7 separate regions of the Homo sapiens genome follow, and regions 2, 3, 4, 5, 6 and 7 are each linked to region 1. The links are contacts of gene promoters, found by promoter capture Hi-C in blood cells and fetal thymus (Javierre and others, 2016). All regions are on one chromosome and are shown on one strand. The core of a region is centred on a gene start or on the middle of the fragment in contact, and the rest is flanking DNA. Distances in the headings are between cores, read along the strand shown. Region 1 holds the start of ZNF470 (zinc finger protein 470). Region 2 holds the start of ZNF329 (zinc finger protein 329). Region 3 holds the start of ZNF606 (zinc finger protein 606). Region 4 overlaps ZNF329 (zinc finger protein 329). Region 5 overlaps ZNF256 (zinc finger protein 256). Region 6 overlaps LOC124904784 (a long non-coding RNA gene). Region 7 holds the start of ZNF586 (zinc finger protein 586).

The links. Contacts are between HindIII fragments. The CHiCAGO score rates a contact against its expected background, and 5 or more counts as called.
Region 2: a contact is called between the fragment with the promoter of ZNF329 here and the fragment with the promoter of ZNF470 in region 1, in 10 of 17 cell types (non-activated CD4 T cells, total CD4 T cells, naive CD8 T cells and 7 more). The highest score is 11.2, in non-activated CD4 T cells.
Region 3: the fragment with the promoter of ZNF606 here is called in contact with the fragment with the promoter of ZNF470 in region 1 in 1 of 17 cell types (naive CD8 T cells); the score reaches 5.1 in naive CD8 T cells.
Region 4: a contact is called between a fragment that was not itself captured here and the fragment with the promoter of ZNF470 in region 1, in 4 of 17 cell types (non-activated CD4 T cells, naive CD8 T cells, naive CD4 T cells and 1 more). The highest score is 9.5, in non-activated CD4 T cells.
Region 5: a fragment that was not itself captured here is called in contact with the fragment with the promoter of ZNF470 in region 1 in 1 of 17 cell types (non-activated CD4 T cells); the score reaches 6.6 in non-activated CD4 T cells.
Region 6: a contact is called between a fragment that was not itself captured here and the fragment with the promoter of ZNF470 in region 1, in 2 of 17 cell types (fetal thymus and activated CD4 T cells). The highest score is 6.9, in fetal thymus.
Region 7: the fragment with the promoter of ZNF586 here is called in contact with the fragment with the promoter of ZNF470 in region 1 in 2 of 17 cell types (non-activated CD4 T cells and activated CD4 T cells); the score reaches 9.6 in non-activated CD4 T cells.

The regions. Positions count from the first base shown.
Region 1 is chr19:56,564,668-56,568,717 of GRCh38, forward strand. It overlaps ZNF470 (zinc finger protein 470), which reads left to right and starts at 2,801. Exons shown (of 6, transcript NM_001001668.4): 1 at 2,801-3,371. It overlaps ZNF470-DT (ZNF470 divergent transcript), which reads right to left and starts at 3,354. Exons shown (of 2, transcript XM_047439806.1): 1 at 2,406-3,354. The coding sequence starts at 3,354. The coding sequence ends at 2,416. RefSeq lists enhancers at 2,481-2,530, 2,541-2,750, 3,131-3,240. The HindIII fragment of the contact is 7,993 bases long and covers 1-4,050 here.
Region 2 is chr19:58,148,624-58,152,834 of GRCh38, forward strand. ZNF329 (zinc finger protein 329) reads right to left here and starts at 2,166. Exons shown (of 4, transcript NM_024620.4): 1 at 2,129-2,166. RefSeq lists an enhancer at 2,243-2,302. The HindIII fragment of the contact is 7,703 bases long and covers 713-4,211 here.
Region 3 is chr19:58,001,538-58,005,557 of GRCh38, forward strand. ZNF606 (zinc finger protein 606) reads right to left here and starts at 1,283. Exons shown (of 7, transcript NM_001348022.3): 1 at 859-1,283. It overlaps ZNF606-AS1 (ZNF606 antisense RNA 1), which reads left to right and starts at 1,357. Exons shown (of 4, transcript NR_036508.1): 1 at 1,357-1,509; 2 at 1,674-1,799; 3 at 2,846-3,163. RefSeq lists an enhancer at 1,215-1,634. The HindIII fragment of the contact is 14,498 bases long and covers 398-4,020 here.
Region 4 is chr19:58,127,118-58,131,070 of GRCh38, forward strand. It overlaps ZNF329 (zinc finger protein 329), which reads right to left. Exons shown (of 4, transcript NM_024620.4): 4 at 1-2,394. The coding sequence starts at 2,386. The coding sequence ends at 761. Among named protein-coding and RNA genes, the nearest start is that of ZNF329, 22 kb to the right of the region's middle. The HindIII fragment of the contact is 846 bases long and covers 1,586-2,431 here.
Region 5 is chr19:57,937,439-57,941,645 of GRCh38, forward strand. It overlaps ZNF256 (zinc finger protein 256), which reads right to left. Exons shown (of 3, transcript NM_005773.3): 3 at 3,395-4,207. The coding sequence ends at 3,486. Among named protein-coding and RNA genes, the nearest start is that of ZNF418, 4.1 kb to the left of the region's middle. The HindIII fragment of the contact is 1,983 bases long and covers 559-2,541 here.
Region 6 is chr19:58,165,112-58,169,020 of GRCh38, forward strand. All of the region lies in intron 1 of LOC124904784 (a long non-coding RNA gene), which reads left to right. Among named protein-coding and RNA genes, the nearest start is that of ZNF274, 16 kb to the right of the region's middle. The HindIII fragment of the contact is 1,212 bases long and covers 1,917-3,128 here.
Region 7 is chr19:57,767,107-57,771,252 of GRCh38, forward strand. It overlaps ZNF586 (zinc finger protein 586), which reads left to right and starts at 2,570. Exons shown (of 3, transcript NM_017652.4): 1 at 2,570-2,772. The coding sequence starts at 2,737. RefSeq lists enhancers at 2,294-2,833, 2,555-2,804. The HindIII fragment of the contact is 1,086 bases long and covers 2,488-3,573 here.

The sequences.
Region 1 (4,050 bases), core at 1,551-4,050:
GTGCAGTGGCAGGATAATGGCTTGCTCAAGCAATCCTCCCACCTCAGCTTCTCGAGTAGTTGGGACTACAATTACACAGCACCACACCCGGCTAATTTTTGTATTTTTTTAAAGATGGGGTCTCACTATGTTGCCCAGGCTGGTCTCAATCTCCTGGGCTCAAGCAATCCTCCCACTTTGGCCCCCCAAAGTGCTGGTATGTATCACAGGCATGAGCCACCACACTGGCCTGGTGTCCTGTCATTAATTTTAGAAAATTCTCAGTCATTATTCAAATATTTTCTCTCCTTTCTCTCTTCCCCTCCTGGTATTCCAGTTACGCATATATTTCACCTTCTGTAATTGTCCCATGGTTCTTGGATATTCTGTTCTTTTTCTTTTTTCATTCTTTTTTTTTCCTCTTTGTATTTCAGTTTGGGAAATTTCTATTAACATATCTTCAAGCTCACCCATTCATTTCTCAGAGTGTCTTAGTCTGAGGGGCTCACTAAAGGTAATCTTCATGTCTGTTACAATGGTTTTCAATTGCTAGGATTTCCTTTTGATTCCTTCTTACAGTTTGCATCTCTCTGCTTACATTACCCATCTGTTCTTGCATGTTGTCTACTTTTTCCAAGATGCTTCTCCTTCTGTGGGCTTCCCTAAGAACTCCTTCTTAAATAGAGTCTGTGCCTTGCAGTTTTCTCTGTTGTAATCTACTGTTATTGACCAGAGCCCCATTAGTGTGGCAGTGAGGTACAGTGGGGAGGGAAGCATTCTATAATCTTATTATTAAATACTATTTTTCTAGTGGGCTTGAGGCCTTGGACTGTGATCTTCAGAAGCACTTCTTAGCCTTTCAAAAATCCTGCCTTACTGAGACAGACAGGCTATAGAGGGACTGGAGCTGGCCAATTGCCTCTCCCCAAGGTCCAACAAGACTCTAGTAAGTAGTTTTTCTTGGAGTGCAGGTGTTTATTATGGAAAATGTGGTGCTTACTTTTCTCCTCCCCTTGCCCAAAAACCTGAGATTTTTCCCCATTCTTCACTGAGAGAATTTGATAGGGTTTCTGGAGGTAAAATTCACGAAAGTGTGGGGGCCCATCTAAGATTGGGCCCCTAGGAGTTTTTAACTCACAAGTTAGCCCACACTAAGCCTCCAGCAATTCATCAAAATTATAAAAAATAAAAGTTTTTACCAGTTTATAACTCCAGTGGCTTCTGCTTCAAGTAAGCTAATCTTGGCTGTAATTTTATGTATTTTTCTTTCTCGGGATTTTGGGGTGTCAGTTACCTTTCTATCTTCAGTTCTCTGATGGATCTAAGAAAAGTTGATTTTCAGTTTGTTGAATGATTTTGTTGTTGTGAAGATGGGAATGAAGGCTTCCGAGCTCTTTATATGCCAGAGCTAAAATGAGAATATTATCATTTTCATCCAACTCAAATAACCACAAACGTTACAAGCTCTAAGATGATATTTGCTGTTTCATAGTTAAAGTATCTTCACAGCTAGACTTGGCTTTATTATGTTGTTTATGATGTCTGACATAAATTGGATCCAGGAGAGTCCAGTCTAGATGTCACTGTGTGGCCTTGGGTGATTGAGTGTGACTGGGAGGGTGAGTTAGTTTCTGGTGAGCCAGTATCTATGATGCTGTATCTTGGTCAGCTGGGGCTGCTATAACAAAATATCATAGACTAAGTGACTTGACTAAGAGACTTTATTTTTCACAATTCTGGAGGCTGGGAAGTTAAAGTGCTGGCACATTCAGTTCTTGGTGAGGGCCCCGTTGGCTTGCAAATGGGTTACATCCTGCTGTGTCCTCACATGGCCTTTGCTTGGTGGTTGTGTAAACATGGAGACCCCTCCTTCCTCTTTTTTAATAAGTGCACTGACCCCATCATAAGGGTATCACCCTTATGACCTAATCTAAAACCAGTTACCTCCCCAAAGTCCCACCTCCTAACGTCATCACACTAGGGGTTAGGGTTTCACCATAGTAATTTTGGGAGGACATATTCAGCCTATAACATGTTGTGTCATGGTGAGACTGGCAATGCTAGATTTCGTGATTTCCTAAAAAATAAAATAAAAATAAAAAACTAAGCACCTACTATGTGCTGTTTTAGTCACTGAGAATATAACCCTGAACAGGACGGAAGCTGTGTGCCTTCTTGGAACCCTCCTTCCAGCAGGGAGAGATAAAATGGGGTGGGGGGAGGTGAGGGGCGTACCGTATATCAGAGAGCAGTAACTAGTAGGCATGAAATAAAACAGGTTCCACACGCGCACCATCAGAAAGTCACAAGTGTGCAAAGCAGACAAATCCCAATCTCCTCACTTTTCTATCGCGTAGGCCCCGCCCGCGCCCCAAGCCCCGCCCTGTCATGGTTTTCCTCTCCAGAGGGTAGCCGCTACGCCTTACCGACTGCGTTTCAGTGCTGTCCCACTGCTCCTGCACACCCCACGCCTGCGACCCTACCCACCACGGACAGGCGCTCCTGCGAGCTGGAAGCCAGTTCTCTGCGTCCTGAGCCTGGCAGCTGCATCTGAACACTCGGAGCCTGGCGATGGCTTCCAGAAACCCCTGCGCCGTGGGTCGCTTCAGTGAAGGGGCCTGTACTTCGGCGACCCAGACTCCGGGCTGAGAGGCCTCCTAATCCAACCAGGAGGACCAGGAGAGGCCCAAAAGGGGACACAGGGCAGTGACCGCCAGGCTTGGAGAGGAGCCGCTCCTGGCAAAGCCAGCGCCCTATTTCTGAACGCCGCCTCCGTTCCGGACTACACTTCCCAGGGGCTATTGCAGCGGAGGACACGCCCACTTCCGGAAAGGACCCAAAGCCGGGCGAGTGCACGTCCCGCCGGTTGCTGAGGAGAAGGGAGGTCTGGGCGGGGCAGCGGCCGAGGCTGGACTGGGGCGCGGCGGGGGCGGTGTCCTGGTTCCTGTGTGGGCGGCGGGCGTGAGCGTGCGCGTGTGGCCTGGTGGCTGTGAGTGCCCATACGTGGTGAGCGTGCGGTGCTGTGCTGAGGAGGGGCGAGCGCGCGCGGGGATGGCGGCCCGGTGTGTGACTGTCCGGTGCGTGGCCGCGAATCTGCGCCTGCGTGCATGGCCCGGCGGCGTGCGGAAGGCGGTGTGTGTTGGAATGAGTGAAGCACTTTAAGTGGCCAAGAGCAGGAAACCCGGCCGGAGGAGGCTTACCCCGTTCTCCCCTGTATCGACTGCGTAGAGCCCAGTGTGGGCAAAGTCCTAGAGCCCGGGGAAGTTGCCCGGGCGGGGCAGCCTCGGCTGAAGCATTTCCTGTCAGCCCTATCTGGAAGGGGCAGAGCCCAGGACAGGGCTCCATGTCCACAGGACGGCGAGGAGCGAAGACCATGGGGACTGAGTACACAGGTAAGAGTGACAGATGACGGATGTGGCTGCCGGAGTGGACATTGAGGTTTTGGGTGCTGTCTTTCGGGGTTCAGGTGCTGGAGGAGGATGTCCCCCGTTTCTAAGGCTAGTGGACCTGGAAGTCGAAAGATTTGGAGGGTCACCTTGGGTCAGAGTGGAGCTGGGTTTAGTTAGGGAGGGACCTTGACTTGGCCAGAGACACCTAACCAGATAACCTGACTCAGGTCCTTGGTATATCACTAAGGGCCCATGGGAGAGAACACTACCCGTAATATTACCCATTATAGCATTACTTCTGGGTACTCTGCTGCTGTTGAAGGAATAGCTCAGCATTTAGATTTTTACCCGTCAGAGCCTTGTCCCATCTATCACTGTAGGATTTGGGAAGAAGGCGAGATTCACAGCTTCACCCAGAAATGCCGAGGCATTCCAGCCTTTCTATGGCTTAATCACGTTCTAGTCAATAACGGAAGATATCCCCATTCCTTGGGCTTCTCTCCCTCCCCTCTGGCCTCCCACTCCAATAAAGAGAAAGGGGGAGGAAGGGCTATTTTTAGCCATATTGTTCTGTGCTTGTTTAGTTTCCTGCATGCTATAGTAATAGCTAATGTTTAATGAGTGTTTATTATGTGCCAGACACAGTTCTAAGACCTTTTGGGAGTATCAGCACCAAACTTCA
Region 2 (4,211 bases), core at 916-3,415, 1.6 Mb after region 1:
AGGAGGACTGCTTAAGACCAGGAGTTCAAGAACAGTCTGGGCAACATAGTGAGATCTCATCTCTATAAAAAATACAAAATTAAAAAATAAGAACGTTACTTTTCTTATGAGATCCTGGCTGAAGTATTTCAGAGTGAGGTATGATATCTATAACATACTTCCAGTAACTCAGCCAAAAAAACTAAGTGTATGTAAATATATGTCTGTATCACACCTGCCTCTGCAACACCTGCTGTGTGTACAAGTGTGTGTAAAATATAAAAAGAAAACCCTATGTCAGAGGCGTTTGAACCAAAGCAAACCTCCATCTTAAATGGGGACTGGGTAAAATAAGGCTGAAACCTACTGGGCTGCATTTCCAGACAGTTAAGGCATTCTAGGTCATAGGATAACACAGGAGATTTGCACAAGATACAGGTCATAAAGACCTTGTTGATAAAACAGCTTGCAGTAAAGGTGGCTAAAACCCACCAAAACCAAGATGGCAACGAGAGTGACCTCTGGTCCTGCTCCCACTAGCACCATGACAGTTTACAAATGTCATGGAAACATCAGGAAGTTACCCTATATGGCCTAAAAATGGTAGGCATGAATAATCCACCCCTTGTTTAGCATATAATCAAGAAATAACCATAAAAATGGGCGACCAGCAGTTCTTGGGGCTGCTCTATCTATGGAGTAGCCATTTTTTTATTCCTTTACTTTCTTAATAAGCTTGCTTTCACTTTACTCTATGGACTCGCCCTGAATTTTCTTTCCCAAGATATAAGAACCCTCTGTTGGGTTATAGCTCGGGACCCCCTTTCTGGTAACACCTATGCATGTGTCTCAGGCAGGGAGAAGATAAAGATAAAGCTAATGTGGCAAAAAGTGTTAATAATTTTAGAATCTGGATGGTTTTAGAAGTGTTAAACTATTCCTGCAACTTCTATGCAAATGCGGAACTTTTCAAAATGAAAAGTTGGGTGAAGAGAGAGGTAAACAAGCAGTAGAATGGAGGAAAGTCACTTGCTGTGGGAAAAAAGAAAAAACAGACAAAAACTGGGTATTCAAAACGTACTTCAACAAGCCCAAGTTCCTATAGCCAAATTTTTTAACTTGGCAAAAAATAAAGGACCTTTTCAGGCTGATGGTAATTTTAATAAAGGTTTAGGTTGCATTTGTCAAAATTCATCAATGGTACAGGGAATATCTGTGCATTTCACTGAAAGTCAATTTTGGCTCAAAAAATTTAAAAAAGCACTACTGAACTCTAATTCATGGTAAGCATAGTGAGGTGTTTGAGGGAGAAGTGTTGTGATATCTGCAACTTACTTTGAAATGTTTCCAAAAATAGGTGGATTAATGAATGGCTGAAAGGATGGACAGAAGGAAAGATAAGGGATACAGTAAGTTCAGCAGACGTTAACCGGGTCGTTCACTGCACAAGTCTTTCAGCTTCTCTATCTAAACCAACATTTTATGTCATAAAATATTGAGACTGGAAGACTGCACAAAGGAAATATGCCACTAAACCAAGGGAAAAGACAGCAAAATGGTCACTAAACACGTGCAAAAATGCGGCCCTCACTGAGAATTGCAGTAAAACATGATTTTGCAAATATCAAATGGAAAAACACACAGGTGATCTAACACCTTCGAGACTCAAGGGGAAGCGGCTCAGCCCACTGGCTCACGGCCGCCAATTCAGCCGGAGGCCGACCCAAGCCTACACTGCCCCTCACACCTGACAGAAAAGCTGCAGACTCGGGGGTTACCCCCGGAGACGGACCAGGACACCCAGCAGGCGTGGCAAAACAGTCTCTATGGGAGGGCGGGCTAGAGATGCGAGCGCGGAACTCACGGGTGACGCTAAGGAAAGAGCGGGGGCGTCCAGACCAGCCCCGGAGCGACCTCGTCCTCAGAGGAGTGACCCCAATCGCCACGGAGCGTCCCCACCCACCAGGAGAACTACGCCCCTGGCCAGACCCTCGCCCTAGCGGGCCCGACATGCCCACCACCCAGGTGAAACCCACCCGCGGACGCGCCCCTCGCCGCCCCACAAGGACCCGGCGGACCTCCACCCGCCAAGACTTCCCTCCGCAGGAAACGGAGGCAGCGCAGGGCTCAGGGATGCGTCGGCACTTACGGTTGGCGGCCGGCGGCAGCCATGTTCCGGGCGATTGCGCTTGCGCGGCTGCCGGGACAAGGATGTGCGCGTGCGCGGAGTCCCCGAGCTTCCCCCGCCCAACGCTGGGGCGGCCGCGGGTACCGGGTTATTCATTACCCTGGCGTGGACTTGCCTCGGGGCGGACGCGCAGGCATTTACTTTCTCCTATGGTCTCCTCTGATTTTTAACCCGATGCTATCATTCTTTTGTTATAGAGCCTTCCTTTTATTTACTGCATAATTTCCTAAAATATTTCTTTATCTATAATCTTTTTTTGAGATAATAATGTTAAAATTCAGAATAAGTACACTCATTATTCATTGGCAATATAATTATTTACTGGGTGCGTGGCTCACGCCTGTAATCCCAGCATTTTGGGAGGCCTAATTTGTTAAAATGACTAGATCTAAGAAATGTAAACAAAGCCAGTAACTTTCCTCTGTAGTAACAATAGCCGGTTGAAAATGAAAACTACACATTTTCATTCTTTCAGTGGTTCTCTTAAACTTTAGCATGGGGAAGCCTAAATATTTACTGACAGGGAAGAGAGAAACTGTGGTATGTGCAACGGAGCAATAGGGGGTGGTTAAAACAAACGGACTGGGCTCACCTAAGGTCAGGAGTTTGAGACCAGCCTGGCCAACATGGTGAAACCCCGTCTCCACTAAAAATACAAAAATTAGCTAGGCGTGGTGGCAGGCGCCTGTAATCCCAGCTCCTCGGGAGGCTGAGGCAAGAGAATCACTTGAACCTGGGAGGCGGAGGTTGCAGTGAGCTGAGATCGTACCATCACACTCCAGCCTGGGGGACAAGAGGGAGACTTCGTCTCAAAAAAAAAAAAAAAAAAAAGGACTAACTTATATACAAGATAGACAGTTCTCCAAAAACAGTTCGAAAAGTAAACTGTGCACTTATCCACATGATACAACTTACCTGGAAATAAAAGACACAAAATCTATATGTTATACAGAGATTGATACATAAGTAGTAAAGTAACAATAACATGGACCAGATAGATTGTCCAACCTCAAGAAAGTGGCAACTGAGGGGAAAGAGTTGGGGAGGAGACAAAGGAGACCTCAGTTACACCTGTGATGCTTGATAGGAAAAAACAAATCAAAACCTGAAAATCTGACTACATGTTAACACAGGTAAAATCTCGATGATACATGGGTGTCATCTTTATTATTTATAGATTATTCTATTACTCTCCGAACCTCTCCGCAGGTTGAAATACTTCACAATTTTGAAATGAAAATTAGAAAAAAAATTCTAAGCCATAATAGTGATTAAATTGTCACTCACAATAGTGATGGTTGGAGCAACTTGGAAATCAATTAGCAAAAGCAATAAAGGATCTTCATGAAGAAAATACAAAAACCTCATTAACAGACCTGAAGTTAAGTTCAGAACACACTGACATATTATTCCTGAATGGAAAGTATTTTTTTAATTTCTCCATGAAGGCCGTATCAGACCAGGCACAGTGGCTCATGCCTGTAATTCCAACTCTTTGGGAAGCCGGGCTGGGGGGATCACCTGAGGTCAGGAGTTCAAGATGAGCCTGGCCAACATGGTGAAACCCCATCTCTAAAAATATAAAAATTGGCTGGGCACAGTGGCTCATGCCTGCAATCCTAGTACTCGGTCTCAAAAAAAAAAAAAAAATCTTCACAAAACTACTAAACAAAAGTATAGCAATTCCAATTCAAAGACTCCCCCCGCCCCCAGCTCACAGAATAAAACAACTTAAAGATCATATGGAGAAAAGTCCAACAGTATCTGGTTAAAAGAACAGTCGGAGACCGGACGCGGTGGCTCACAACTGTAATCCCAGCACTTTGGGAGGCCGAGGCAGGTGGATCACTTGAGGTCAGGAATTCAAGACCAGCCTGGCAAACATTGTGAAACCTGTCTCTACTAAAAATACAAAAATTAGCCGGGGGTGGTGGCGGGTGCCTATAATCCTAGCTACTCCGGAGGCTGAGGCAGGAGAATTGCCTGAATCCTGGAGGCGGAGGTTGCAGTGAGCTGAGATCGTGCCACTGCACTCCAGCCTGGG
Region 3 (4,020 bases), core at 33-2,532, 1.4 Mb after region 1:
AAAGGTAATTTGCATAAGCTGGAAAAAAGAGCATGATCCTGAATGAGAGGGTACAAATTTGTCAGCTATTCCCAAGAGACAGCCAGTCACAACACAGATGGAACTTTTGGATTAATCTGACAATTATTGTAAAATCAACTTGCAATCCTCATATATTAGTGGTTGCCTAGAGCTGGGGGAAAAATGAAATGGGGAGTGACTGCTTAAGGGGAACAAGGGTTTCTTTGTGGGGTGATGAAATGTTCTAAAATTAGATAATGGGGATGATTGCACAACTTTATTAATATACAATAAAACCGGTGAATTGCACACTTTTAAGTGCTTAAAGTGAACATTATGTTATGCAAATTTAATCCCACCTCCAAAAAAAATTCACCTCCAAGATTTACTAAGCCTAAGCTTGTGTGTGTGTGGAGGACTTAGAGATGGGCCTGGCGCCCAGACCCCTAACTCCTCAGGTTCCAGATCTTTGTACAAGTCAGCAACCTCTCGAATGGATTCCTGGGTATGTGTATAAAGCACTAGAACACACAGTGGGCCTCAGGAGCACCGGAATCAGCGCGAAAACGCAGAATGCAAACCGTACTTTGCACCATTATTTGCAACTTGACAGTGACCGCCGCCGTCACTGCATGTTTAAGGGAACCCGGAGCTGTTTCCAACCCAGGTCTGACGTCCTTCACAGTGCTTTGTGTGAACTGGCAGGGGGAGAAACGACGGCTGGGGAACGAACGGGGTTATTCGTCCCATCAATGGCCTCAGAAGCATCCTTATCACCTGCTTCCAGAGCTCCCGACCCAAATTTCCTCCTCAAGACCGACGCGGCCGCGACGCTGCAAAAGCTCGTCCCGGCCTCACCTGGCTCGCGGCCGGCGGTCCCCCTTGAAGGCGGCGCAGCAGGATCGGGGTCTGCCCGCCTGGGGCGTTTGGCTTTTGTCCCGCGCCGAGGTCCGGCCCAGGAGTGCGCTTGGGAGCTCCCGGCGCGGCCTCGGGGACAAAGGCCCGCGGAGCCGACGTGCAGCAGAGTTCACCCAGGCCCGTCCGACCAGAAAACGAAGAACGCCCGGAGGCGGGAGGCCGGAGGCAGGCTGCTGGCTGGAGAACCGACGGCAACGACGGCGCAAAGCCGGCGCGGAAAGGGCAGGCGCAGGACCCACCCTGACGCCGCCTCTCCCAGCCGGCTCTCCTGACCCCCCAAGCCCCGCAGCTACGGCGGCCCCACAGCCTGAGCAAAGGCCTCACCTCAGCCGCGGACAATGGCGGCTGCTTCCCCGGCGTCGACCGGAGCGCGCCGCGGGGTCTGCTGGGAGCTGTAGTTCCAGGCGGGCACTTCCGGCGTCGGGCAGCGGCGCCGCCATGACAGGTTCCTGGGCCGCGCCGCCTCGCCCTGCCTGGGCGGGGTTGGGACCTTTCTGGCACCTGCGTCGAAGCCGGCGGCAGGATGGACTTTGTTGTCCCGGTCCCAGACCACCCTCCTCCACCGTCGCCTCCCACTGCAAAAAGGCCTGGGTAAGTCGCGGCCCCGCGGGCCTCGGTTTGCCCATCCGCAAAATGGCGCCTCGTGGTACCGGGTTTCCCGGGAGGAGCTCGGCGAGTTCTCAGCGCTCTCGAGGGATCCTTCCATTTGGCGTTCGCAAGATTGTGAGAAAGTGACTGCTGTTATTCTCTTTAAGATAAGGAACCTAATTCGAGCTACCCTTCTCTGTGAAGCTCGACGGCTGAGAACGTCAGGGCTCGTTCCCAAGTCTCTTTCCAGAGGCCAGGCTTTATGGGAGCATGGGTTACCAGCGACGCACCCTGTGAGTTTTCCTCTATCGATATGCATGGAGCGGTTCGGGAGCGGTGGCTCATTCCTGTAGTCCCAGCACTTCGGGAAGCTGTGGCGGGAGGATCAGTTGAGTTCAGGAGTTCGACACCACCCTGGGCAACATAGCGAGACCACATCTCTACAAAAAAAATACAAAAATTAGCCCGGTGTGATGGCGCGCGCCTGTAGTCCCCGCTACTTAGGAGGTTGCGGTGGAAGGATTGCTTGAGCCTGGGAGGTCAAGGTTGCAGTGAGCTATGATCGCACCACTGCACTTCAGCCTGGGCAACAGAGCAAGACCCGGCATTAAAACAAACAAAAACGGGCCGGGCGCGGTGGCTCACAGCTGTAATCCCAGCACTTTGGGAGGCCAAGGCAGGTGGATCGCCTGAGGTCAGGAGTTCCGAGACCAGTCTGGGCAACATGATAAAACCTCGTCTCTACTAAAAATACCAAAAATTAGCCGGGCTTGGTGGAGGGCACCTGTACCCAGCTACTTGGGAGGCTGAGGCAGGAGAATCGCTTGAACCCGGGAAGCGGAGGCTACAGTAAGCCGAGATCAAGCCATTGCACTCCAGCCTGGGCAGCAGGGCAAGACTCTGTCTCAAAAAAAGGGACTGAGGGACTGTAGGTGGTGATACCAAAGAAAGCATGGCCATTTAGGAAGCTAGACTTGAGTGAGCAGTGGGCAAGAGAGATTTTGAAGATATTTCCACTAGTAATGGAGGATCATTTTAAAAAGCTGGCCTGTGGGTTGGGCTTTTGTTGTTGGGTGGTGTTGGCACTCACTGTGGGTGGGCAAAGGGGAGTAGCCCTTTCAGAGGGAGAGGAAAAGTTCAAGTAGGACAGGCTGAATTCAAGGGAGAGGAAAATTTCAAGTAGGACAGGCTGAATTCGAGGGAGAGGACCATGAGAGAGGTAAGGTGGAAGGGGCAAGGTGTTGGGACAGGCCCCAGCTGGCAGGAAGGTGAACCCAGTCAGAGTGGGCACTGAGAGGAAAGCAATCTATGGATGGTACAGCCACAATTTCCATCTCAGGATCAAGCAGAGAAAGAGAGGCTGGAGAAGGAAGAGTGACAGAAGTAAGAAGAGAGTGTCTCTCCACTTCCACTCCAGCCCCCTACAGCTCATCCTCCAGCAGGCAGCCAAGGGCACTTTTAGGATCTCACATCAGGTCCTTGCCTCACATTCTGCACTGGCTTCCCAAGTAATTAAAGTAAAATCCAAATTCCAGCTCACAGCTTAGAAAACTCAGCAGGACTGGCCTCTGTCCTATCCCACACCCCACCTCAGTCCCTCAAGCTCATCTCCTGTCATTCCTGCCCATTTCTGGACCCCAGCCACTCCTCAAACAGGGTAAGTCCATTCCTGCTTCAGGGCCTTTGTACGTATTGTTTCCTCTTCCTGGAATCTTCTTCCTTGTACAGCCCCAGGGTTTTCTTTTTTTCATCCAGATCACAGCACAGATGTCACATCCTGGTAACAGCCAGCTGTGACTCATCTCCCTAATTCTCAATTGTATTACTCTCTTTTTATTTTCTTCGTATCGTAACTGATAGTCTCATACAGTACAGAAGCCAAGTTTTAAGATATGCAATCACCAAATACCTGCTACACAAACCTCAATGTTCATATAAAATAAGACTAGAATTCATATTCTAAAGAGAGATGAGGTAGCTCTGTTCACTTTTGAGAGGGAACTCAAATGAGAGAGATACCTTTGACCTAAAGGTGTCAGGAAACCAGATGAAGAAAAACACCCCTGCTATGATTTGAATGTTTTTATCCTCTCCAAAATTCATGTTGAAACTTACTCCCCAGTGCAGTAGTGTTGGGAGGCAGGGTCTAATGGGATTTATGGAGGTCATAAGGCTCTGCTGTCATGAATGGATTAATGTTGTAAACCAAAAAATAAAATTCTAAGCCCCCCACCCCCCAACCATATGAATAGACCCCTCCTCTCAGCCAAGGGCATTCCAAAGTTAATTTGAAAAATGAGTTCGGGCCATGATGGGAAGCAGAAGCTGGACTTGCCTCATTATACCCTCCTCCCTTCTAGAATTAGTGATAGAACAGACTCTTTAAGTCTGATAAGAAACATTTACAGTCTGTTATCTCCGGAGGTTTCATCTGCTTGGTAAAACCTTGAGTTCCACAACCCCAGACATTCCTTTCTATTGACAATAACTCTTTAAATCAATTGGCAATCAGAA
Region 4 (3,953 bases), core at 759-3,258, 1.6 Mb after region 1:
CACTGTGTGGACTCTCTCATTGTACACCTTTGTTGTTACAGAAAACACAGTAAGAGCCCCTGCCAAAGCCTCTCTTTCTGATTACACTTAAAAAAGGTTGATTCAGGCCAGGCAGTGTCTCATGCCTGTAATCCCAACACTTTGGGAGGCTGAGGTGGGCGGATCATGAGGTCAGGAGTTCAAGACCAGCCTGGCCAACACAGTGAAACCCTGTCTCTACTAAAAATAGAAAAAATTAGCCAGGCATGGTGGCAGGCACCTGTAATCCTAGCTACTTTGGAGGCTGAGGCAGGAGAACTGCTTGAACCTGGGAGGCAGAGGTTGCTGTGAGTGGAGATCATGCCACTGCACAGTGAGACTCTGTCCGAAAAAAAAAAAAAAGTTGATTCAGTGTTTGCTTACGTACAAGGTGGAAACTCCCTACTACAGGGCTCTTCATTCCAATCATGTTCTGAATGCATTCACAGGTTCTCTCTGTGGTGTCACCCCCATGTTTGCACATTTCATTCCAGTGTGTGTGTTGTCATGTCTGGTACAGACTGAATCATCCCCAAAGACTTTTCTGCCCTCATCCTAAGTTGTCTCTGGAGTTCCCCAATGAGCAGACTTAACAGTGTGGCTCAGCAATGTCTCACATTCATCAATTCACTGGATAGCTTAAAGGATTCTTTTCTACTGACCAGAGAGGAGTCAGATCTAAGACACGCCTCCTAAACACAGGAGTGAGAGTGAACTGGAAGACTCATGTGGCCCCCAACCATTATGTTTCCATGGGTTGCTCTCCCAGGTGTGCTCTTTGATGTCGAACAAGGGATGAGCTCTTTTGGAACATTTTTCCACACTGAGGACACCGGCTGGGACCCTCCCTGCTATGGAGTCTCTGATGTACTGCCAGGTGAGAGTTCTGCTTGAAGGACTTCCCACATTCTGGACACTGATATGGGGTCTCCTTAGTGTGAATTCTCTGGTGCTTGGTCAGACAGGAGCTGTCCCTGAAGGCTTTGCCACACTGATTACACTCATAGGGCTTCTCACCAGTATGAGTCCTCTGGTGCCTAATGAGGCCAGCGATATTCCTGAAAAGTTTCTGACACTGGTTGCAGCCATAGGGCTTCTCGCCAGTATGAATCCTCTGATGCCTGATGAGGTACGCACTCTCGATGAAAGTCTTGCCACATTCTTTACATTCATAGGGTTTCTCCCCAGAATGGATCTTTTGATGCACAATGAGGTGAGAGTTTCTGTTGAAGGATTTCCCGCACTCTGCACACTCAAAGGGCTTTTCTCCAGTGTGAGTCCTCTCATGCTGGGTGAGGTACGAGCCGTCCCGGAAAGCCTTTCCACATTTGCTACACTCATAGGGCTTCTCACCGGTGTGGATTCTGAGATGCACTGTAAGGTGGGAGATGTCAGTGAAGGGTTTCCCACATTCGTTACATCTATATGGTTTTTCCCCTGTATGAGTTCTTTGGTGCAAAATTAAGGATGAATTTCGGTTGAAGGTTTTTCCACACTCTAGGCATTCATAAGGTTTCTCGCCTGTGTGAATTCTCTGGTGCTGTGTCAGAGCTGAGCCATCACTGAAAGCTTTCCCACATTTACTGCATTCATAGGGCTTCTCTCCTGTGTGGATTCTTTGATGCACAATCAGGTTGTAGTTCTTGGAGAAGGACTTTCCACACTCATTACAAGTATAAGGCTTCTCTCCGGTGTGAGTTCGGTGATGCAAAACAAGAGAAGAGTTCCGTTTGAAGCATTTGCCACATTCAGTACATCTATATTGTTTCTCTCCAGGGAGATTTCTCTGGTTTTCATTAAGCGATGAGCTCAGAGTAAAGATGTTCTCAAAATTCTTACCTTCATACGATTTCTTGCCTCTTTTCATTATTTTCTGATGACCAAGAGAGGTAAAATGATTAAAAGACTTAACACTTTCAGGGTATTTGTAGGGCTTCTCTCTCACTGGATTTCTTCCATGAATAACTTCCATGGAATGGTTGAAGCCTTTTCCACAGGCATCACTGTCACCAGTTCTCTTATCTGCATAACTTTTAGGATAGCTGGGTAAGGCGGGGTCACAATCCAGACCACTAACATTTGAGTCAGGTGCATGGAAACCATTTGTTGCCAGAACTCTCTGAGACGGTGGAAGGTCTGAGCTTGCAATCAAATGCTCCCCAAAACCAGGATATTCACAAATTGCTTCCTGAGTCCCTGGTTTCTCCAGAGTTAAAGCTGATTGCCTCAAGTGTCCCTCCTGGTTCTCACAGTCCCAACCATCACCTAAACTGGACAAGCAGGGAACTTCCCTTGTGAATCTTTCCACTTCTACATCACAGGGTACTTCTCTCTCAGGAAAATTCCGAGTCGTCATTTTCAATCTCATATCCCAAACTGCAAAAAGAAGAAAAATGCAGACTTAGGTATATGAAGCTTTATCTGTAAGAGAAACAGACAATGATGATGGGCTAGGTGTAAAGATGTGTATTTTTTTACTTGTTTTCTCTTTTAAATTCAAATTTATACAAGGAAGAGGTAAAATCGTAGCCAAGGAATGGAACCAAGAACAGATTCAAAAAGAGCCATGTAGCATTTTCATCTTCCTAGAGAGCAGGCAGGAGGAATGGACCTCGGGATAAATCATCACCAAAAGGATTAGTTTGAGATGTGAGAGACCAGAGGCCAAGCATCCCTGCTCCCCCTAGAATTCCATCCCAGCCACTGCATTCTTGTCCCTGTCACACACTGCCCATCAGTACACATTTCCAAAGCTCTGACTTCACAATGAGCTTACAACAGCACTGAAGGAACAGTTCTCACCCCAGCTCTGTCATCAAAGTTCTGCATTCATGGATAGGACAAAGCACAGGCTTGGTGACCTAAAAGTTCTGGGTCTAAGTCTTAGAACTGTCAATGACCTGGCGGGGCACAGTGGTTCACTCCTGTAATCCCAGCACTTTGGGAAGTGGAGGCAGGTGGATCATTTGAAGTCAGGAGTTCAAGACCAGCCTGACCAACATGGTGAAACACCGTCTCTACTAAAAATACAAAAAAAATCAGCCAGGCGTGGTGGCACATGCCTGTAGTCCCAGCTACTCTGGAGGCTGAGGCAGGAGAATCACTTCAACCTGGTAGGCAGAGGTTGCAGTGAGCTGAGATCACACCACTGCACTCCAGCCTACGCGGCAGAGTGAGACTCCATCTCAAAAAACAAAACAAAACAAAAACTGTCAAAGACTGCCCTGCATGGTTGTTATAAAAACTGGATCATGTCGGCCAGGCGCGGTGGTCACGCCTGTAATCCCAGCACTTTGGGAGGCCGAGGTGGGCAGATCACAAGGTCAGGAGATTGAGACCATCCTGGCTAACGTGGTGAAACCCCGTCTCTACTAAAAAAATACAAACAATTAGCCAGGCGTGGTGGCGGGCGCCTGTAGTCCCAGCTACTCGGGAGGCTGAGGCAGGAGAATGGCGCGAACCCGGGAGGCGGAGCTTGCAGTGAGCCAAGATCGTGCCACTGCACTCCAGCCTGGGCCACAGAGCAAGACTCCGTCTCAAAAAAAAAAAAAAAAAAAAACTGGATCATGTACAAAGCAGTCTCCAAGGCTAGGGGATGAAGGGCATTCTGTAAATGGTTGCATGTGTCTTCATGCATATCAATCTTCCTGTCACCATCCTTGTCCATTCAGACTTCACAATATTAAGACAACTGGTTGTCCATTCATTCGTTCATTCATTTGGTGGGATCGGGTCTCGCTCTGTCATTCAGGCTGAAGTGCAGTGGTGTGATCTTGGTTCACTGAAGCCTCAATCTCAAAAACTTCAAGCAATTATCCCACCTCAGCCTCCCAAAATGCTGCAAATACAGGGATGAGCCATTGTGCCCAGCCTTCTTTCTATTTTTTAAGGTAAAATGAAAATAGACCCTTGCCTCAGAATACATACATACATAT
Region 5 (4,207 bases), core at 300-2,799, 1.4 Mb after region 1:
GTAGACACAAGGTTTCACCATTTTGGCCAGGCTGGCCGCAAACTCCTCACCTCAGGTGATCCACCCGAGGTGGCCTCCCAAAGTGCTGGGACTACAGGTGTGAGCCACCTCGCCCGGCCCAGAAGTTTTAACAGTGATGTCTACGAAGAGATGGAATTAAGGTCAGCATGTGATTAAAAATGTCCCCCTTGTTGGTTTTGTCATTGAGATTTTTTTTTCTTTATTAAAAACATTGAACAATACCAAGGTGGAGAAAAATTGTGCCTGTTCACCTACCTACTTGGGAGGCTTAGAGGGAGGATCACTTCTGCAAAGGAGTTTGAGGCCAGCCTGGGCAGCAGAGCAAGACTCTGTCTCCAAATAAATAATTTAATGAATAAGTAAAAACAGAAGGTGAAATCTGCAGTATAGTATTATCCTCATAGAATTGTGTCTCCCTTTCTTCATTATTCTGTGTGTCAATTATGTTACAAGTTTTTCATCTTATAGGAAAAAAGTCATAGATTCTATACACATCTGTACTTTTTCTCACTTAGCAATATGGTTTGAACAATGAAAAGCTTCTTTTTCACTTCACATTTGAAATCTGCTTATCTCCACATTCTATTTTTTTCTCCCCTTTTTGAGACAGCGTCTCACTCTGTTGCCAAGGCTGAAGCGCAGTGGCATGATCAAGGCTCAACTGCAGTCTCAACCTCTCAGGCTCAAGTGATCCTCCCATCTCAGCATTCAGGAGTAATTGGGACTATAGGCATGCACCACCACAACCAGCTAATTTTTGAGAGATGTGGTTTTGCCATGTTGCCCAGGCTGGTATCAAACTCCTGAGTTCAAGCAATCCTCCTGCCTCGGCCTCCCTAAGTGCTGGCATTATAGGATTCGGCCACTACACCTGGCCTATTCATCTTTTTCTGATGTAGAACCCACTCAGTGACAGTGTAATCAAGAATCAAGAAAGAGGCCAGATGCAGTGGCCATGCCTGCAATCCCAGCACTTTGGGAGCCTAAGGTGGGCAGATCACTTGAGGTCAGGAGTTTGAGACCAGCCTAGCCAACATGGCAAAAACCCGTCTCTACTAAAAATACAAAAATTAGGTGGGTGTGGTGGCGCACATCTGTAATCCCAGCTACTCGGGAGGCTGAGGCAGGAGAATTGCTTGAACCCGGGAGGCAGAGGTTGCAGTGAGCTGAAATCGTGCCACTGCACTCCAGCGTGGACAACAGAGCAACTCCGTCTCAAAAAAAAATAGAGCCAGAATACAATACACAAGCAACTGAAGTATTTCAACAGCAAAGAAACCCTCAAACAATCCAATTTAAAAATGTCAAACGATCTGAATAGGCATTTTTCAAAAGACAACATACAAACGGTCAAAAATATATTAAAACACACTCATCACTATCTGGGAAATGCAAATCAAAACCGCAATGAGGTATCACTCTCCCCGTTTAGGATAATTATTATCAAAAAGACAAAAACAGACGCTGGCAAGGATGCAGAGAAAAGGGAACTAATGGCCAGGTGCGGTGGCTCACATCTGTAATCCCAGCACTTTGGGAGGCCGAGCTGGGTGGATCACGAGGTCAGGAGTTCGAGACTGCCTGACCAACGTGGTGAAACCCTGTCTCTACTAAAAATGCAAAAATTAGCCAGGCGTGGTGGTGCGTGCCTATAATCCCAGCTACTCAGGAGACTGAGGCAGGAGAATAGCTTGAACCCGGGAGACGGAGGTTGCAGTGAGCCAAGATCATGCCACTGCACTCCAGCCTGGGCGACAGAGAAAGACTCCATCTCAAAAAAAAAAAAAAACCCAACAAAATACAAGAAAAGGGAACTCATGCACTGGTGGTGCAAATGCAAACCAGTACAGCCATTATGGAGAACAGTATTGAGGTCCCTCTAAAAACTACAAATATGCCAGGCGCGATGGCTCACGCCTGTAATCCCAGCACTTTGGGAGGCTGAGGCAGGCGGATCACGAGGTCAGGAGTTCGAGAACACCCTAACCAACATGGTGAAACCCCGTCTCTTCTAAAAATACAAAAATTAGCAGGGGTGGTGGCACGCACCTGTAATCCCAGCTACTCAGGAGGCTGAGGCAGGAGAATTGCTTGAACCTGGGAGGCGGAGGTTGCAGTGAGCCAAGATCACACCACTGCACTCCAGCCTGGATAACAGAGTGAGACTCTGTCTCAAAAAACAAAACAAAACAAAACAAAAAACTACAAACACAACTACCATATCATCCAGCAATCCCCCTACTGGGAATTTATCCAAAGGAAAGAAAATCATCACATTGGAGACACATCTACACCCCGTTTACTGCAGCACTATTCACAATAGCCAAAATATGGAATCAACCTAGATGTCCAACAACAGATAAATGGATAAAGAAAATGTGGTTTATACACACAAAGGAATACTATTCAAAGAACAGAATGAAATCCTATCACCTGAGGCAACATGGATGGAAATGGAGGACATTATTTAAGTGAAATAAGCCAGGAACATAAACATGCACATTCCCACTCATATGTGGAAGCTTTAAAAAAAAAAAAAAAAAGCTGGGTGCGGTGGCTCACGCCTGTAATCCCAGCACTTTGGGAGGCTGAGGCGGGTGGATCACCTGAGGTCGGGAGTTCAAGACTAGCCTGACCAACATGGAGAAACCCTGTCTCTACTAAAAATACAAAATTAGCCGGGGTGGTGGTGCATGCCTGTAATCCCAGCTACTCAGGAGGCTGAGGCAGGAGAATCGCTTGAACCCAGGAGGCAGAGGCTGCGGTGAGCCAAGATCATGCCACTGCACTCCAGCCTGGGCAAAAAGAGTGAAACTCCATCTCAAAAAAAAAAAAAAAAAAAAAAAAAAAAAAAGCCTGGGAGACAAAGCAAGACTGTCCCCCACCCCCACAAAAAAAAGTTGATCTCTTAGAAGTAAAAAGTAGAACAGAGGATACTAGAGGCTGGGAAGGGTAGTGGGTAGGCAGGAATAGACAAAGATTGGTTACAAGCTACAAAATTACAACTAGACAGGAGGAATAAGTTCTAGTGTTCTATACCACTACAGGAGAACTAAAGTTAATAATATATAATTTCAAGTTGTTAGGAGAATGGCAATTGAGACTGACTGTTCCCAATATAAAGGAATGACGAATGTTTGAGGTGATGGATATGCTAATTACTCTGATCACTCTAAGTTATAGGTATCAAAACATCACTATGTACTCCAGGAACATGTACAATTATAATTTGTCCATTTAAACACAAAGAATTTTTTTAAAAAAAGAAACCATTTGGTTTTCTGTGTGGATATGAGACAAAGTAGTATGTACACATATAAACTTATTTGTATAAAACAAAATTCAGAGAACATATACTAAATATAAAACATGGTTATTGAAAATACGTATTTATTTATTTATGTCTGTGAATTTTGCAGGGACACTTCTCAGTCCGTAACAGCCCTATGTGTGTTACCTAACCTTTATCCCTTGTGAACGTTCTGATGTTTTAGGAGGTTGGAGTTGAAGGTAAAAAATTTTCCACAGTCACTACACTCATAAGGCCTTTCCCCACTGTGAATTCGCTGGTGATTAGTGAGGTTAGAGCTCTGGCTAAAGGATTTTCCACATTCACTGCATTCATAAGGCCTTTCTCCGGTATGAACTCTTCGGTGTTTAACGAGGCTAGAGTGGTTACTAAAGGATTTCCAACACTCACTGCACTCATAAGGCCTTTCTCCGGTGTGACTTCTCCTATGTCTAATGAGGCTGGAGCTCTGGCTAAAAAACTTCCCACATTCATTGCACTCATAAGGCCTTTCTCCAGTGTGAACTCTCTGGTGTTGAAGGAGCGTAGAGCTATGAGTAAATGATTTCCCACACTCCCCACATTCATAAGGCCTTGCTCCAGTATGAACTTTCCAGTGTGAGATGAGGTAGGATTTACAGGTAAAGGATTTTCCACATTCACTGCACTCATATGGCCTTTCTCCTGTGTGAACTCTCTCATGTACAATGAGGTCAAATTTCCTGCTAAATAATTTTCCACATTCATGACATTCATGAGATCTTACTCCAGTATGAACTCTCTGGTGTTGGAAGAAACGAGATCTATAAGTAAACAATTTCCCACATTCACTACACTCATAAGGCCCTTCTCCAATGTGAAGTCTCCGGTGTTTAATGAGGTGACAGCTCTGGCTAA
Region 6 (3,909 bases), core at 1,273-3,772, 1.6 Mb after region 1:
GACGACTCCGTCTCAAAACAAAACAAAACAAAATAAAAACAACAACAACAAAAATGCCATCCTGAAAGTGGAAAGATTCACAAAGAATGAGCTTCATTTCTTCACATTTGGAAGAAACCAGGACTGTAAGGTCCACTTAGAGAAGCAGAAGGAGGACCAGGAGAGATGAGTCAAACAAATGATGCTTGAGGAACACTGATTCAGGAATGAGGTTGCAAGAATAAGAAATGCACAGCTAATGTTAAGTAGAATTCAAGCCTTCTTCCACTAAACAATATTCTTTTTTGTTTTGTTTTGTTTTGTTTTTGAGACAGAGTCTTGCTCTGTCACCCAGGCTGGAGTGCAGTGGCAGGATCTCAGGTCACTGCGAGCTCTGCCTCCCGGGTTCATGCCATTCTCCTGCCTCAGCTTCCAGAGTAGCTGGGACTACAAGCGCGCGCCACCACACCCAGCTAATTTTTTGTATTTTTAGTAGAGACGGGGTTTCACCGTGTTAGTCAGGATGGTCTCGATCTCCTGACCTCATGATCCACCCTCCTTGGCCTCCCAAAGTGCTGCCATTACAGGCATGAGCCACCGCGCCTGGCCTTGTTTTTGTTTTTTGAGACAGAGTCTCATTCTGTCACCCAGGCTGGAGTGCAATGGCATGATCTTGGCTCACTGCGACCTTCACCTCCTGGGTTCAAGCAATTCTCTGCCTCGGCCTCTCAAGTAGCTGGGATTCAGGCACCCGCCACCACACCTGGCTAATTTTTGTATTTTTAGTAGAGACAGGGGTGTCGCCATCTTGGCCAGGCTGGTCTTGAACTCCTGACCTTGTGATCCACCCACGTTGGCCTCTCAAAATGTTGGGACTACAGGCGTGAGCCACCGTGCCTGGCCCACTAAACAATATTCTTATCAATGAATACCACTACATACATGACTCATTGTAAAACAACATTCAGATTTAATAAACCATAAATGCACAGGGAAAAACCCCTGAAAATTATGATTTTGGGAATGCTTTTGGTCAAAACACTCAACTTCTTAGACTTGCAAACAGTTCAGTGTAGAAAAGCCTTATATATGAAATATACGTAGTAAATTTTTTAAGTGTAGCACAAGTCTCAGTCAATGTAAGCGAATTCATGTTAGAGAGAGTTGAGTTGAATGTAAGGAATGTGGAAAAGTGTATTCAGAGCTCCTCTCATCTTTGTTTTGAGAGCACTCACACAGTTGACAAACCCTCCAGATGTTCTGAATGTGAGAAATCCCTGTTTATGGTAAATACTTTCTGACATCAGAGAAGTCATACTGGAGAGAGACCATATAAATGTAGTATGTGTAAAGAAGTCTTTAAACAGAGCTCAACCCCACTGATGTATGAGCAAACTCTCTCAGGAAATAGACCTTACAAATGTGTTGAGTGTTGGAGAGTCTTTATTAAGAAATATTTCTTTCAGTATGTTTCAGAACTTATACAGGAGAACAATACTATAAATGTAATCGCTGTAGCAAAGGCTGTAGACACAAATTATACCTTATTCAATATGAGACAATTTATACTTGTGGGAAATTATATATTTGCAGTGAATTTAGGAAATTCTTCTAAAGAAGTGAACACTTTTACCCTATAGCTAAGAATCTATAGAGACACCTTATGAAGGGAATCATTCAGGGAAAGGTTTTACACTTTGCTCCTCCACTACTCAAAAATCACAGAAGACACACTGGAGAGCAAAGTGATGGATACAGTCATCGTGGGAAAGGCTTCAGACGTAGCCTAGCCCTTATGATGTGACATCAGAGGACTCATACTGAGGAAAACCCCATACATGTAATTTGCGTGGAAGAGCATTCAGGAGTTGTTCTCATATTATTGAACGTAAGAGGACTCATACTGGAGAACACTATGAATGCAGTCAGTATTGGCAAGCTTTCAACCATGGCTTTTACCTTATTTGACACCAGGAAATTCAAACAAATTAGAAAAACTCATTGAAAAAAGATCAATGTGGAAAAGCTATTGGTTGGAATTCCATTTTATTTGACATCAGGGATAAAGGAGGCAAAAGCCACCAGTTATTTTTTAACTCTTAAGTATCTGAATGTAACAAGACTGCAAACTTGTGACTCCCTGCAGCCACAGATCAGCAGGGATAAGCAGTTCTATTCTACATATGTCCCTAATTTGCCATAGAAACACCATTTAATGGGGACTCAGGGTCTAGGCCTGATGAACAATGTCTCATAGAAATGTCTGGCCATATGCGGCTGGGCACAGTGGCTCACGCCTGTAATCCCAGCACTTTGGGAGTCCGAGGCGGGTGGATCACGAGGTCAGGAGATCAAGACCATCCTGGCTAGCACCGTGAAACCCCGTCTCTACTAAAAATACAAAAAAAAAAAATTAGCTGGGTGTGGTGGTGGGCGCCTGGAGTCCCAGCTACTCAGGAGGCTGAGGCAGGAGAATGGTGTGAACCCAGGAGGCAGAGCTTGCTGTAAGCCGAGATCGTGCCACTGCACTCCAGCCTGGGTGACAGAGCAAGACTCCGTCTCAAAAAAAACAAGAAAAAAAGAAAAAGAAAAAGAAATGTCTCCCATATGCCTGTAATCCCAGCTACACAGGAGGCTGAGGCAGGAGAATAGCTGAACCCAGGAGGTGGAGGTTGCAGTGAACCAAGATCACACCACTGCCCTCCAGCCCGGGCAACAGAGCAAAACTCCATCTCAAAAAAAAAAAAAAAAATGGTTGCCATAGATAATCATGGCTGGGCACAGAGGCTCACACCTGTAATCCCAGCACTTTTGGAGGGCAAGGCAGGTGGATCACTTGAGCTCAGGAGTCCAAGACCAGCCTGTGCAACATGGAGAAACCCCGTCTCTAATAAAAATACAAAAATTAGCTGTGCGTGGTGGTGCATTCCTGTAGTCCCAGCTACTTGGGAAGTGAGGACTGCTTGAGGGGGTCAAGGCTACAGTGAGCTGAGATGGTACCACTGCACTCCAGCCTGGGTGACTAAACGAGACCCTGTCTAAAAGAAAAGAAAAGAAGAGAAATGGTTGTCATAGGTAATCACATGTAAATTTTTTTTTTTTTAAAGAGTGAGCAACAGTAAGATTTATTGCAAAGAGCGAAAGAACAAAGCTTCCACAGTGTGGAAGGGGACCCAAGCGGGTTGCCCATAAATGTTATCAGTGGCAACAGCGTATCTGTTTTTCTACATCACGTATGAATAAAAGAACCGTCAACCTTGAAGAATGGTGCAGGAATCATATGGCAACAGCGTATCTATTTTTCTACATCACGTATGAATAAAAGAACCGTCAACCTTGAAGAATGGTGCAGGAATCATACACCTTTTAGCATCATGGGGATCCTTATGTGTATAATTTTATGATAGTCCTAGATGAGGGCTGAAGGATATGCTATCAATTTTTTTCTGCATAATCCAAATATTATCACTCCAAACAAATCAGAGAGCTTTATACTAACTTGCTAATACTTTGCCAATAGCATTCTTCTATCTACTTGAATAGAAGCATCATAAAGAGTTGTATGTTGGCCAGGCACGGTGACTCACACCTGTAATCCCAGCATTTTGGGAGGCCGAGGCAGGAGGATCACCTGAGGTCAGGAGTTTGAGACAAGCCTGGCCAACATGGTGAAACCCTGTCTCTAGTAAAAATAGAAAAATTAGCTGAGTGTGGTGGCACATGCCTGTAATCCCAGCTACTTGGGAGGCTAAGGCAGGAGAATCAGTTGATCCCGGGAGGTAGAGGTTGCAGTGAGCCAAGGTTGTGCCATTGCACTCCAGCCTGGGTGACAAGAGCAAAACTCCATCTCAAAAAAATAAAAAAAATGAGTTGTACGTATCTTCACATTTCTAAGGGCATGTCCAATGTCTTGGCAGGGTTAAAAAGACA
Region 7 (4,146 bases), core at 1,320-3,819, 1.2 Mb after region 1:
AATCCAAGAAAGCTTTTTTTTTTTTTTTTTTTTGAAACGGAGCCTCACTCTGTCCTCTGTCACCCCGGCTGGAGTGCAGTGGCGCGATCTTGGCTCACTGCAGCCTCCGCCTCCTGGGTTCAAGTGATTCTCCTGCCTCAGCCTCCTGAGTAGCTGGGATTACAGGCATGCGCCACCACACCCAGCTAATTTTTCTATTTTCAGTAGAGACGGGGTTTCACTATGTTGGTGAGGCTGGTCTCGAATTCCTGACCTCGTGATCCGCCCACCTCTGCCTCCCAAAGTCCTGGGATTACAGGCATGAGCCACCGCACCCGGCCAACTTTTTTGTTTGTTTGTTTGTTTGTTTGTTTGAGACGGAGTCTCGCTCTGTCCCCCAGCCTGGAGTGCAGTGGCGTGATCTCGGCTCACTGCAACCTCCGCCTCCCGGGTTCAAGCCATTCTCCTGCCTCAGGCTCCGGAGTAGCTGGGACTACAGGCGCCTGCCACCACGCCCAGCTAATTTTTTTGTATTTTTAGTAGAGACGGGGTTTCATCATATTAGCCAGGATGGTCTCGATCTCCTGACCTCGTGATCCGCCCGCCTCGGCCTCCCAAAGTGCTGGGATTACAGGTGTGAGCCACCGCGCCCAGCCAACTTTTTTTTTAAGTATAGAAAATTTTACAGGTTGGGCGCGGTGGCAGGCGCCTATAATCCCAGCTGCTCGGGGGGCTGAGACAGGAAAATCACTTGAACTTGGCCAAGAGGCGGAGGTTGCAGTGAGCCGAGATCGCAGCAATGCACTCCAGCCTGGGTGACAGAGCGAGACTCCATCTCAAAAAAAAAAAAAAAAAAAGAGGTGGAGATTTCCCAGAACTGAGGTTCCCTCCCCTTTTTAGACTATATAGGGTAACTTCCAAACATTGCCAGGGCATTGGTATACTGTCATGGCGCTGGCGGGAGTTAGTATGCTAATGCATTATAATTAGCGTATAATGAGCAGTGAGGATGACCACAGGTCACTTTCATCACCATCTTGGTTTTGGTGCGTTTTAGCCAGCTTCTTTACTGCATCCTGTTTTATCAGCAGGGTCTTTGTGACCTGCATCTTGTGCCAACCTCCTATCTCATCCTGTGACTAAGAATGCCTAACCTGGGAATGCAGCCGAGTATTTCTCAGCCTTACTTTATCCAGCCCATTTTCAAGATGGAGTCACTCTGATTCCAATGCCACTGACAATGATAAGCACTTGCCAGCAAAGAGGTGAACGCATGGATTTAAGGCACTTGAAATATCTCAGTGTAAAAGCACCCTGTGCATGTAGCAGGACGAGCCGCAGACAAAACCTCTCAGACACCGAGTTGCAGAAGGAAGGGCTTTATTCAGCTGGGAGCATTGGCCAGCTACTGTCTCAAAATCTGAGCTCCCGGAGTGCACAATTTCTGTCCCTTTTAAGGGCTCACAACACTAAAGATTTCACATGAAAGGGTCGTGATTGATTTGAGCAAGCAAGGGGTATGTGACAGGGGCTGCATGCACCGGTGGTCAGGGAGGAACAGAACAGGGCAGGGAGTTTCACAATGTTCTTCTATACAATCTAAGGAATCTATGAATAACATCGGCTTCTAAATCATAAGTTGATTTTTAACTACTGGGTTTAGGCCAGGCGGGCCTAGGCCTGGTTTCGGGCCTGGCGCGGGGTTGCCTGTCTTTGGTTTTACTTCCTTGTTGTTTTTACTGAATATAAAACAATGTGAGAGGGTCTCTCTCTTCTCTCATGCATACATACTCCATGTTTGAACACCGCAGCCATTGTCCTGTAACATAATAGCATTTGTCTCATTAGCTTTTTGATGTTGATATCAGATTTCTAGAGGAATCTGTAGGTTAAAGATATAAATAAAAGTGTTGCTAATGGGCTGAGAACGGTGGTTCACGCCTGTAATCCTAGCACTTCGGTAGACCATTGCAGGCAGATCACTTGAGGCCAGAAGTTCGAGACCAGCCTGGCCAAAATGAGGAAACCCCGTCTCTACTAAAAATACAAAAATTAGCAGGGTATGGTGGCACACGCCTGTAATCCCAGCTACTCGGATGGTTGAGGCACGAGAATCGCTTGAACCCGGGAGGCATAGGCTGCAGTGAGCCAAGATCACACCACTGCACCCCAGCCTGAGTGACAGAGAGAACTATGTCTTAAAAAAAAGACAAAAAAAAAAAAAAAAGGAAGAAGCCGAGCATCACAAATTCTGAAATAAGAAGTCTCCAAACACGCGGGCAATCAGTTGCACACAGTACCCCCAGAAATGTGCGTATGGCCTCTTCTAAGATGGGAGACCCTCCTCCGCATCTGGACCTGGAGTCGCCATTTCCTAGCGCCCCTCGCAGTGGAGCTTGCCCCTTTCTTCGGAAAGTCGGAAGAAAGCCACCTTAAGCGCTGCCCATGTCTGGGAACTACATTACCCAGAATCCGCCCTGCGAAATGGTAACGTGGCTGAGCCAATGAAGCTTCAGAGAAGCCGTGCCATTGCCGGGGCACGTAAAGTCAAGCCAGGACTTCCGGCGTCCTAGCCGTGGCAGCCATTTTGGCCTGTCAGGTCCATCCGGCGATGCTGGGTCTGGACGAGCTCGGGAGGAGTGGTTGTGGCCATTGCACACAGGCGGATCTGAGGTTCGGCGACGCCGCTGGTCGCGACCCGGGACAGGACAACGACAGGAACACCGCCGAGCCCGCGTTCCCCCCCCGCCCAGAGTCATGGCGGCAGCAGCCGCTCTGAGGGCGCCTGCTCAGGTGAGCGCTGCGACCTCCGGGCCTTACCCACCCTACCCACCCAGACCCTGAGGCCCCTGATCGTGAGGGCCGCCTCCTCGCGTCCCTGCAGCCCAGGCCTCTGTCAGGGACGGAGAGGCGCCGGCGGGTGGGATCCCTGTTTCCGACACCCAGTTGATGCGGTCGGCAGAGCGAGACTGGCGGAGGGCAAAGGCCTGCAGGCGCGACTGAGGCAGGAGGATGCGGAACACGGGGACATCGTGTGTCTACTGGGAAAGAAGTGTGATACGGAGTTATTTCTTTTTTTTTTTTTTTTTGAGACGGAGTCTCACTCTGTCGCCCAGGCTGGAGTGCAGTGGCGCGATCTCGGCTCACTGCAAGCTCCACCTCCCCGGTTCAAGCGATTCTCCTGCCTCAGCCTCCCGAGTAGCTGGGATTACAGGCATGCGCCACCACGGGGTTTCACCATGTTGGCTAGGCTGGCCTCGAACTCCTGACCTTAGGTGATCCGCCCACCTCGGCCTCCCAAAGTGCTGGGAATACAGGCGTGAGCCACCGCGCCTGGCCGAGGCGGAGTTGTTTCTTCAGTACCAGGCTGAGGGTTGAACTTTGACTGTGAGGACGCTAAAAGCCATGGACAGTTTTGAACAAAGGAGGAAATCTGTGTTAGAGTTGCGATTCCCAAAAGATGTTCGAAGGAAGAACAGAGTTGAAGGCAGTGATGAGGACATTGAGAGGTTGAATCATTGAGAGGTGACATTGAGCACTGGGCCACAAGATTAGAGACTCAGTCTGAAGTCATCTGGCTGCAGGGCCAAAAAAAGCTTACAGAGAAGCCTGAGTCTATCAAATCCGAGCACAGACACATTTGTGAAAGCCCTGCCTTTTGGCACACCTCATGGCTACAGAAGCACTTACAGAATCCACAGTAGGAAGTAGGGGATGCTCTAGTCCTTCACTGGTCCTCATCCTATCCCACATGTCTAGATCTTGGCATCTTTTTTTTTTTTCGGCGACGGGTTCTCACTCAACACCCAGGCTGGGTTGCGGTGACGCGATCACGGCGCAGCACGGCCTCGACCTCTCCGGGCTCAGGAGAGCCTCTCATCTCAGTCTCCCGAGTAACTGGCTTTTTGTATTTTTAGTAGAGGTGGGGTTTCACGGCCGGGCGCGGTGGCTCACGCCTGTAATCCTAGCACTTTGGGAGGCCGAGGCGGGCGGATCACGAGGTCAGGAGTTTGAGACCATCCTGGCTAACACGGTGAAATCCCCCCTCTACTAAAAATACAAAAAATTAGCCAGGCCTGGTGGCACACACCTGTAGTCCCAACTACTTGGGAGGCTGAGGCAGGAGAATCGCTTGAACCCGGGAGGCAGAGGTTGCAGTGAGCCGAG